3 separate regions of the Homo sapiens genome follow, and all the other regions are linked to region 1. Evidence: promoter capture Hi-C in 16 types of primary human blood cells and fetal thymus (Javierre and others, 2016). All regions are on one chromosome and are shown on one strand. Each heading gives the region's core, a stretch centred on a gene start or on the middle of the fragment in contact. The rest is flanking DNA. Distances are from core to core; before and after follow the strand shown.

Evidence for each region. The method cuts DNA at HindIII sites, captures the fragments that hold promoters and counts their contacts. A CHiCAGO score of 5 or more calls a contact.
Region 2: a fragment that was not itself captured here is called in contact with the fragment with the promoter of UBE2U in region 1 in 1 of 17 cell types (naive B cells); the score reaches 6.5 in naive B cells.
Region 3: a contact is called between a fragment that was not itself captured here and the fragment with the promoter of UBE2U in region 1, in 3 of 17 cell types (endothelial precursors, non-activated CD4 T cells and fetal thymus). The highest score is 9.2, in endothelial precursors.

The regions. Positions count from the first base shown.
Region 1 is chr1:64,202,086-64,205,164 of GRCh38, forward strand. UBE2U (ubiquitin conjugating enzyme E2 U) reads left to right here and starts at 1,538. Exons shown (of 10, transcript NM_001366232.2): 1 at 1,538-2,031. The coding sequence starts at 1,966. The HindIII fragment of the contact is 16,836 bases long and covers 1-3,079 here.
Region 2 is chr1:63,640,176-63,643,254 of GRCh38, forward strand. All of the region lies in intron 7 of PGM1 (phosphoglucomutase 1), which reads left to right. Among named protein-coding and RNA genes, the nearest start is that of PGM1, 48 kb to the left of the region's middle. The HindIII fragment of the contact is 5,978 bases long and covers 1-3,079 here.
Region 3 is chr1:63,678,777-63,681,855 of GRCh38, forward strand. All of the region lies in intron 1 of LOC105378771 (a long non-coding RNA gene), which reads left to right. Among named protein-coding and RNA genes, the nearest start is that of PGM1, 87 kb to the left of the region's middle. The HindIII fragment of the contact is 1,571 bases long and covers 767-2,337 here.

The sequences.
Region 1 (3,079 bases), core at 288-2,787:
AGTCATCACCACTCCCTAATCTTAAGTACCCAGGGACACAAACACTGCGGAAGGCCACAGGGTCCTCTGCCTAGGAAAACCAGAGACCTTTGTTCACTTGTTTATCTGCTGACCTTCCCTCCACTATTGTCCTATGACCCTGCCAAATCCCCCTCTGCGAGAAACACCCAAGAATGATCAATAAAATAAATAAATAAATAAATAAATAAATAAATAAATCAGAGCATGACACTCTCCTGTTTAAACCCATTAAATGGATTCCCATAGCTATTCAAATAAAGCCCAAACTTCCTACTGTATAGTGCCCATCTTTATCACACCCCTCCCAGGCTCCTCCACAACCTCCCTGACCTTCCCTTGTTCCCTTTTCAAGACAAGCTCTTTCCTGACTCAAAAATATCTTGTTTTCCTCTTCCTAGAACTCTCTGCCCTCAATATTTCATGTAGCAGGCTCCTTCTCATCTTTCATGTATGAGTTCAAAACCCCATTCCTTACAGAGGCATTTCCTGACTACCATTTCTAATCCTTAATGACCTACCCCAATCTCTATCATGGTACTGTTTTATTATTGTCCACATAACGTTTATCACCATCTGAAATCATGATTTTTGTTTTGCATACTTGTTTATTGTATATTGGAGCCATAAAGACATTTACTTCATTTGAATCTTTCAAGTAAAAAAAAAGTATTTAATAAATATTTGTAAAATGAATGGACTAAATGAACATCCGGATTCTATAAAATTAGTAAGTAAAAAGTAAAAAAAGAAAGTATTCTGAACAAAGATGCCAGGCTTTGTAGTTGGCGCTGGCAATGGAACCGTGTCTTTCAGTAGTTCCCACTCTGGTGAAGACAATAGACAATTGTGATGCCGTATGGCAAATGTTAACTAGGAGGCAAATAGAAGGTCCTGTGGGATCACAAAAGAAAGGATCCCTTAAAGAGTCGTTAAAATCTGAAGGATGAGTGAGTGAAGGGGAAATGAGGGCTGAAGGGGTGGAAGGAATGTGGTAAACTCCTAGGTAGAAGGAACAGCAGGTGCGAAACTGTGCGGGAAGAGATGGGAATCAGAGAAATTTTAAGCAGTTCCCTGTTCCTGGAGCACTTTCCCAGGGTGATTGTAGGGTTTGATGACATAATAGCATGCACACTACTGTGAATGGTAACTCGCCATGTAAGTTAAGATATTGTTATGCAGACCTGTACCTACCAGTCACTTACTATATCTTTTGATAGTCAAAGAAAAAGGAAGGATAATTTCGAAGAAAGACTTCGTGGGACGGCTTCTGTGACTTACATGCTGGGTCCTGGGACCTCACCCCATCCTCTACACTAGTTTTGTACAGTCCATGTTCGTGGCCTGAGAAGGCGTGGTGTTGCCTTGACCACGAATCTCATTGGCCTTTCAAAGGGGAAACTGTTGTAGGATTGGCTGTGGAGATAGCAAGAGGCCTGCCCCCTGTCGCTGATTGGGTGAGAGCGGCCAACCCCCTGCCTCCGTCTCTCGGCGGCCCCACGGGGGCCTGTTGGTTGGCAACCGATTTGCTTCCTCCGGTGCGTGGCTGCGGGGTTGCACCTGTGAAGCGAAGACAACCTGCTAGGACCCTGATAGGCGTACACCTCTCACTCCCACTCACGCGCCGACGACATGGGCTTGTCTCCGTTACTCATCCAAGTTTGTCTTGAGACTGGGCTGTGAGCCGGCACTGCAGTGAAACGCCGCAGATGAGGAAGTGCCCAAGTCTTCCTTCGGGAAGTTCTCGTTTAGAGGAGTCAGGAGAAAAAGTCATTGTTATATCCCAACTTTAGAAGCCGCTTATCTTGGTACCGTTCTGAGGTTCTAGAAAGCAAGTAACTTATATCAGTTTACTAAGTGTGGGAAAGTGACCCATAACTTCAAACATCTGCCTCAGAGTAAACCTGAGGCATTTGGGGACAAGTGTCAGACCCTCCGCTGCCTATCATGCACGGCAGAGCTTACCTCTTGCTGCACAGAGACTTCTGTGATCTCAAGGAGAACAATTATAAGGTAAGTACTGGGCACGTGGAGAGATGTGTTTCATTGTGCAATAATTTTTAAGAGGCAGTTTAACCCATTTTATTCTATAAGTAGTAATTTAGTTAAACCTGATTTGCCACTACAGTATTGTTATTTAATAAATCCATTTCACTGAAGTAATGTGTTTCATATTAATAACAATTATTATTACTTCAAAATAATAATGCTTAACAATATTGAACATATTATGCAGAGTAATTTATGTGGATCTAGGCACTGAATATCAGGGTCTGTCATGTAGTTAGTGACTAGTAGGTGCAGGCTTATGCTCATTAATTATAATACTATACAATAAGTAGTATTTCATTTTACTTACCAAAAACCTAAGCCTCAGAAATATTCTGTAAAGATTTTGCCCCATGATTCCATTACAGGGTTTTTGGACTTCAAAGCCCTAGTTCTTAATTCCTGTGTTCCACTGCTTACTGTCTAGTGTACTTTTACCAGCATGACACATAAATGCCTTCCCTTTATAGTTTTAACACAAAAGAAGCAATGTCCTTGGGCTTAAACGCCACCAATGAGGTTATCAATGTCCATGGCTGCCACAGGCTGATTTACGGAAAATGAAAAATGGAAGAGGGGGCGAAGAGGGAGTGCTTAAGAGAAAGAACAGAAAGAAAGCTGTCCATGAAAGGTATAGAGTGCTTCCCACAGTTGCTTCAGGTGTAGTTCAGTGGCATTGTTCATTTTTTACCTCTGCTATAAAAGTACTGCATTCACTGGAGATGTTAGGAACAATTATGGAGTCCAACAGCGAACATTCCTGGGGCATGGACCTAACATTTGATATTGTTTCTGCTCATCCTGAGCTCTGTAGTTCTCTGTTGAAAGAGAATCCAATGAAGGAATATGTAAATATAGATAATAGAGAGACAGGGCTCACCCAGACAAGCACTAACATACTTAATAACTATGTGGATGCTCAGAAGTGTTTTTATGTGTTTGTAAGTGTGTTACTTAACGTAATTCATAAGGTTTTCTATGAAATACATTCTTGTCCCTCCATTGGAACAAC
Region 2 (3,079 bases), core at 421-2,920, 560 kb before region 1:
TCAGTCATTCTTTATGAATGAAGATGTCTTTGAAGGCAGCAACTGTGTCAAAACCTTTGTTTTCCTGTTCTCCTGTACCAGTATCAGTGTTGAGCCTAGTGAAAAGATAAAAGTCTAGAGTCAGGTTTCCCAGAGCATGTGAGTATGTGGAAGAATACTAGTTCCATGAGAGGGTTCTAGGGGTCAAGAAAAATTGGAAAAATTGGACCACACTTCTCTGTTTTGGATATTCACAATGATATTAGCATTTGAAGATTCCAGAACATTCTGCCATAAAGAATCCTGTTAGTACAGTTTTGCCTAAATATAGTTTACCACTATATATAATAATTATGATGATATGATACAATATCATCACCACAATAATGATTATTATTATTATCATTTCGTAGTATGTACAGTAACTTCTTTTTCCACAGACCCATGTGGGAAGCCTTGGTCAAGAGGGATCAGAGCCCCAGAGCCAAGTAGGAATCCCTGGTGCTGACCCACAGGGAACAGGCCTGAAGACAGGATAGCACAAGCTGCTCCTCTTACACAACAGGCCTTCAAATACAAGAAGCAGCTCTCAGGTCCTTCCTTCTTCAGGCCGTCCATCTTTGTTTCCTCCAGTCATTCCTCATTTCACATTGTTTATAGACTCAGTGCCAGACTCTAGGTGCTTCTGAGTTTGCCAGTGCCACTCTTAGAAGGTGATGCCCAGAACTGAGCCCAAATCTTCCAGGGTTGGCCTGGCAAGTGAAGAGTGGGGTGGGATGATTATTTCTAGTGATTAGGACACTGTATTTTTCTTGACATAACTTTCCTTTATGTTAGTTTTTAGGAAGTTGCATAATACTGTTTAGCCCACATAAGGTTGTGGGTAATTAAACCCTTAAAGTTTTTACCTAGAACTATTTGCCAAGGGAAGTCTCTCATGTTATGTTTGTGGAATTGATTTCTTTGAACCAAAGTATTAGACTTTAGACTATTGTTAAAGTTTGTTCTCATTTATTAACACATTCAACAAATACCTAGTACCAATCATGGTTTTAGCTTCTCCTTGGTATATTTCATGTCCAAAGAGAGAATGCTCTTCATTATCATGAGGATAATCACAAGCTCTTTCTCTCTCTCTCTCTTCAAAAAAAGAAAATTTTTGTGTAATATTTCTGAGATAAACATTTAAACAGCCAGGCTGCATAGCCATAGATCGCTGTTGTGAACGAGTGCAGCTGGGCTTATTTAACTGAACTCCTGATCTTCTTATTTATAGAGGAGTTAATTTTTAGCAACCACGCCCCTTGCTAGTGAATGTTTCCAACAGTTCTTTCATAGAGTTTCTCAGGGTAGACATTAGTGACTCTATGAACTTTGAAACATTTGAATTCTATAGCTTAATTGAGCACAGAGTGCTTTATTTCTGTATTTTTCCAGGCGATAGGAGAGACAATTTCTCAAAAACGTTTCCTTGACCTTTCAGAGTGGGCCAAATCCCCTGATTATTGGCTCTTGTGGCACCATGTACCTCTTCTTTGTTGTACTTGTTGCAGCTGTGATTTTACAATTACTTATGGTTATTTGATTAATGTCTGTTGGCTGTATATGCCATGAGGACAGAGATCTTATGTGTCTTATCCTGCATTGTGTCCCTCGAGCCTCCCGTAGAGCCCAGCATAGAACAGGTGCTCAGTAAACGCTTGTTGAATGAGTTCATGAACACTATTCACTTGGCACCTTCCATTTAGACAGATTCCTGCTATTGGAAAAGAAAGAACTTTAAAAGGTATCTGATGTAAATTCCTGTATGATGCTGGAACCATAGTGACTGGTCACTGCTTTCTGGCTGAACCACCCACCTCAATGGAGAATCCACACCTCACCTCTTGCCGTAGTCTGGGACCCTTGTAATGACTCAACACCACTTCCACTCCACAGTCCAGGGTTGGGAACCCCAGGGTCTTTGCGGGAAGAAATGCACTTTTACAAAAGAAAAGAAGTTTGCTTGCAAAGAGGTGCAAAGGAGTCTAACTTCAGGACTGGTCCACCGAGTAAAACAAACCACTAGCATCTGCAGAACAATCTTGGAATATTACTAACATTATACATTAGTCTGTTTGTATACATTATACATTAGTCTGTTTGTGCTGGAGGAGCAGCAGCTTTCTCACCTGGATATGGTAACCACAGAAGCTAGGTCACTTACTTCTTCAGAGGTCAGCATTACAAACACCAGGGATAAATGGGGACCAGAACTGGACAGGATAAGCCTGTTGTTGTTTGTTGATCTCATGGTACAAAGCTGTTTTTTCTTCCTAACCGTGGATGATTATGTACATGTTTATACACAATGGTAGAGGGCAGACTGTCAGTTCCATCCCACCTTAGAATTGTTGGGACTTTGAAAGTGAAGTCACTGAATAGTATACAATACCATGCATTTGAACCCTTCCTCAGGAAAATAGGGGGCTTGGGAAAGAGCGATGGGAAACCAGGTTGATGATGAACTTGGTATCACTTAGAGATATGTAAGTTATGATCTGGTCAGGTCTAGAGGCTAGCAATATTTTTTCCCTGTCCTGTCTTTAAAGGTTCTAGTGCTAATGTATCATACAGGAGTGATAACTTAAAGAAATACAGCATTAACACTTTGCAAATTTCTTTTAATTTTTAGTTTCATATGAAAAGTCCTTCATGTTTGCACATTTTGCATTGATTCATTCCTCAAATATTTATTGAACTTTGATTTTATCCTGGATACTGAGTTAGACTCTGGGACACATGGTGAACAAGGCCTTCTCATAGAGGGCTCCATGAATTACAGGTGTGCAAAGCAATAGAAGGTGAAGTACAGGGGTACTTCGGGAGCTTTATTCTCAGGGTGCCTAACTTGGTTCTGTGGTGTAGGAGATCAGATTTTCTTTCTGGCTTTCTGCCCATTCTAATTTGCATAGCTACTGAGTACATTTCCCTGTAGGCAAAGCCCACAGGGGAAGATTGTAGCACCCCATGTCTGGGGATAGCCTAGACAGAATACGCCAGTAGAACTAGGCTTATACCCTAATTATAACTCACTCATTTAAAGTGTTACCTGCCTGTC
Region 3 (3,079 bases), core at 302-2,801, 520 kb before region 1:
GCCTGGCCAACATGGCGAAAACCCATCACTACTAAAAATACAAAAATTAGCCAGGCATGGTGGTGCACACCTGTAATCCCTGCTACTCGGGAGGCTGAGGCAGAATGGCTTGAACTCGGGAGAGGGAGGTTGCAGTGAGCCGAGATTGCACCACAGCACTCCACCCTGGGCAACAGAGCAAGTGAGTCTCTGTCTCAAATTAAATAAATAAATAAAATTTAAAAGTAAATAAAATAAAATAAAATAGGGTTGCCAAATTTTTCAAATAAAGATACAGAATGCCCAGTTATACTTGAATTTCAGATAAACAACAAATAATTTTTTTAACATAAGGAAGTCCCAAATAATGCTAAAAATAATTCCATTATTTAAATTTAACTGAGTGTCCTGGATTTTACCTGGCACCGCCAGAACTGTTAAGAGAAGTGGAAAAAGAGTTCCAGGCAGAGGGAGGAGCTTATTAAATACTGGGAATTAAGAAGACAGTGAGTCAGGGAAACCACAAGATGTTCAGTGTCCAGGAAGAGATGCTCCTATTTCCCAGCCTAGAACAAAGGGATCTGATAGCCCCTCAAGAAGAGAGCTCAAATCTTGCTTTTTTGTCTGTGCCTTCCTATAGCATCTACATGGACACCTGTGGGCATAAGGAGTCCTTCCAACTTCCACTGCCCTTGCCCGCCTTCAGGCCCATCCCATTTCAGATCTCCCAGCAGATTCTCTGCTTTCAACCTCTCTACCAGCATCCAATCCTGTCACATAAGGCTGAAGCTTCCAGGGCCACCTTATCATCATAGATGGCTAGAACTGGGAGGGCATTTGCATTTCAAAGATGAGGCAAGAGTGGATCAAAAAGAGAAAGTGGATTGTACCAAGGACACCCTTGATATGATCAAGGTTAGTGGCAGAGCAAGCATGAGAACTCACATCTGTGACGCCATCCAGGTTTCCTTCTTCTGTACCCCTCAGCACTCTTCCTAAAGTCTTGCTGCTATGACCCCTCCAAGCCTCACAATGAAATTCGGTCCCCAGTGTTGGAAGTGGGACCTAATGGAAGGTATTTGGGTCATGGGGGCAGATCCCTCATGACAGGCTGATGCTGTTCTCACGGTGATGAGTGAGTTCTCAGTCTGTTAGTTCCTGAGAAATCTGGTTGCTAAAAAAGAGGCTGCCACCTCCCTTCTCTTTTTGCTTCTCCTCTCACCATGTGATCTCTGCACACACTGGCTATCCTTGATCTTCCACCATGAGTGGAAGCAGCCTGAAGTCCTCACCAGAAGCAAATGCTGACACCATGCTTCCTGTACAGCCTGCAGAACTGAGAGCCAAATATACCTCTTTAAAAAAAATAAATTACCCAGTCTCAGATATACCTTTATAGCAACACAAATAGAATAAGACAACAGCTTTACCCATTTTGTCTAAATGTTTCTTATTTCTTCATTATCTCAGGAGACAATTAAACCATCCACTCAAACTTTGTCTTATTCATTATGGATGACTGTGTTTTCTCACCTTGAGTAGGTTGCTAATTCTCTAACAAATTAAGTATGTTTGGTGCTTGGGTGTCATGCCCTTCTCATGGGAACTTGTGAAGCCCAGGTGAGTTGATGTTAAGTTTTGGGTCCCAGAAGTCAGAGTTGGGCACAGAACTCTTACCACAATGACCAGTAGTACAAACCACTAGAACAAGGGCTGAGCCAGAGTTCTTGGAATTATCCAAAGATCAAACTGCAGAACTATTATATTAGTGCAAAAGTAATTGCATTTTTCATAATTGTGGTTTTTGCAATTAAAAGTAATTGCAAAGGCTGCAATTACTTTTGCACCAACCTAATATCTCTACGGGCACCCTGAACAGGAGCATGTGGGGTCAGGATCTGGACAGAAATGGAATGAAATGGTTGTAAGTCCAGAGCAGAGAGAAGAGGCAGCAGAATTAGCATGGCATTGTGGGATGAATTATATCCTCCACAAAGAAGATTTTGAAGTGCTAACCTCCAGTACCTCAGAATGTGACCTAATTTGGAAATGGAATCTTCAGAGAAGTAGAGTTAAAATGAGGTCATCAGAGTGGTCCCAATCCAATATGACTGGTGTCCTTCTAAAAAGGGGAGATTTGGACACAAGGGACAGACATACACACAAGAACAATACATGGACATGAAAGTGGAGATTGAGGTGCTGCATCTATAATTCAAGGAATACCGAAGGTTGCCAGCCAACCCCCAGGAGCTAGGAGAGGGGCATGCAACAGATTCTCCCTCACAGCCTCGGAAGGAACCAACCCTGCTGACACCTTAATCTCATACTTCTGGCCTCCAGAACTGTGGGACAATAAGCTTCTGTTGTCCTAAGCCATCCAGTTTTTCATGCTTTGTTATGGCAGCCCTAGCAAATGAATATACATGGAGTATCTTGGAGTGTGCCAGGATTCTGCCATGGACACTTGCTGTCCTCTAACTAGGTGGCATCATCCAGTTCTGTGGCTTCAAAGCCATCTCTAAATCAGTAAATTCCTAATTTAGATCTCCAGCCATGGGCTCATCCCAGAACTTGAAGCTTCTATATCCCACTGTCCATTTGTCACTTTTTTGGATGTCTTTTAGGCACCTCAAATTCATGGGGCTCAAACAGAAATCTTGATCCCCTGCATGATCATAGTCATCTTATTCTTTCCCTGGTGTGATGGTTAATTTTATGTGTCAACTTAGCTGGTCCAGAAGGTGCCCCAATATTTGGTGAAGCATTATCTCTGGGTGTGTCTGGGAGGGTGTTTCTGGGTGAGATGAACATTTGTGTTTGTGGATTGAGGAAAGTTGATTGTCTTCCCTAAGGTGAATGGACTTTATTCAGTCGAGGCCTGAATAGAATAAGAGGCTGAGTAGAAATAATTCTCTCTATATATCTGACTGTCTTTGAGCTGCAACATCAATCCTCTCTTACCTTCAGACTTGGACTGGAACTTACCCCATGGGCTCTTCTGGTTCTCAGGCTTTCAGACTTGGACTGGAACTCTACCATCAGCTCGCCTTAGTCTCTAGTTGCCACCTGCAGATCTCAGACTTCTCAGCCTTCATAA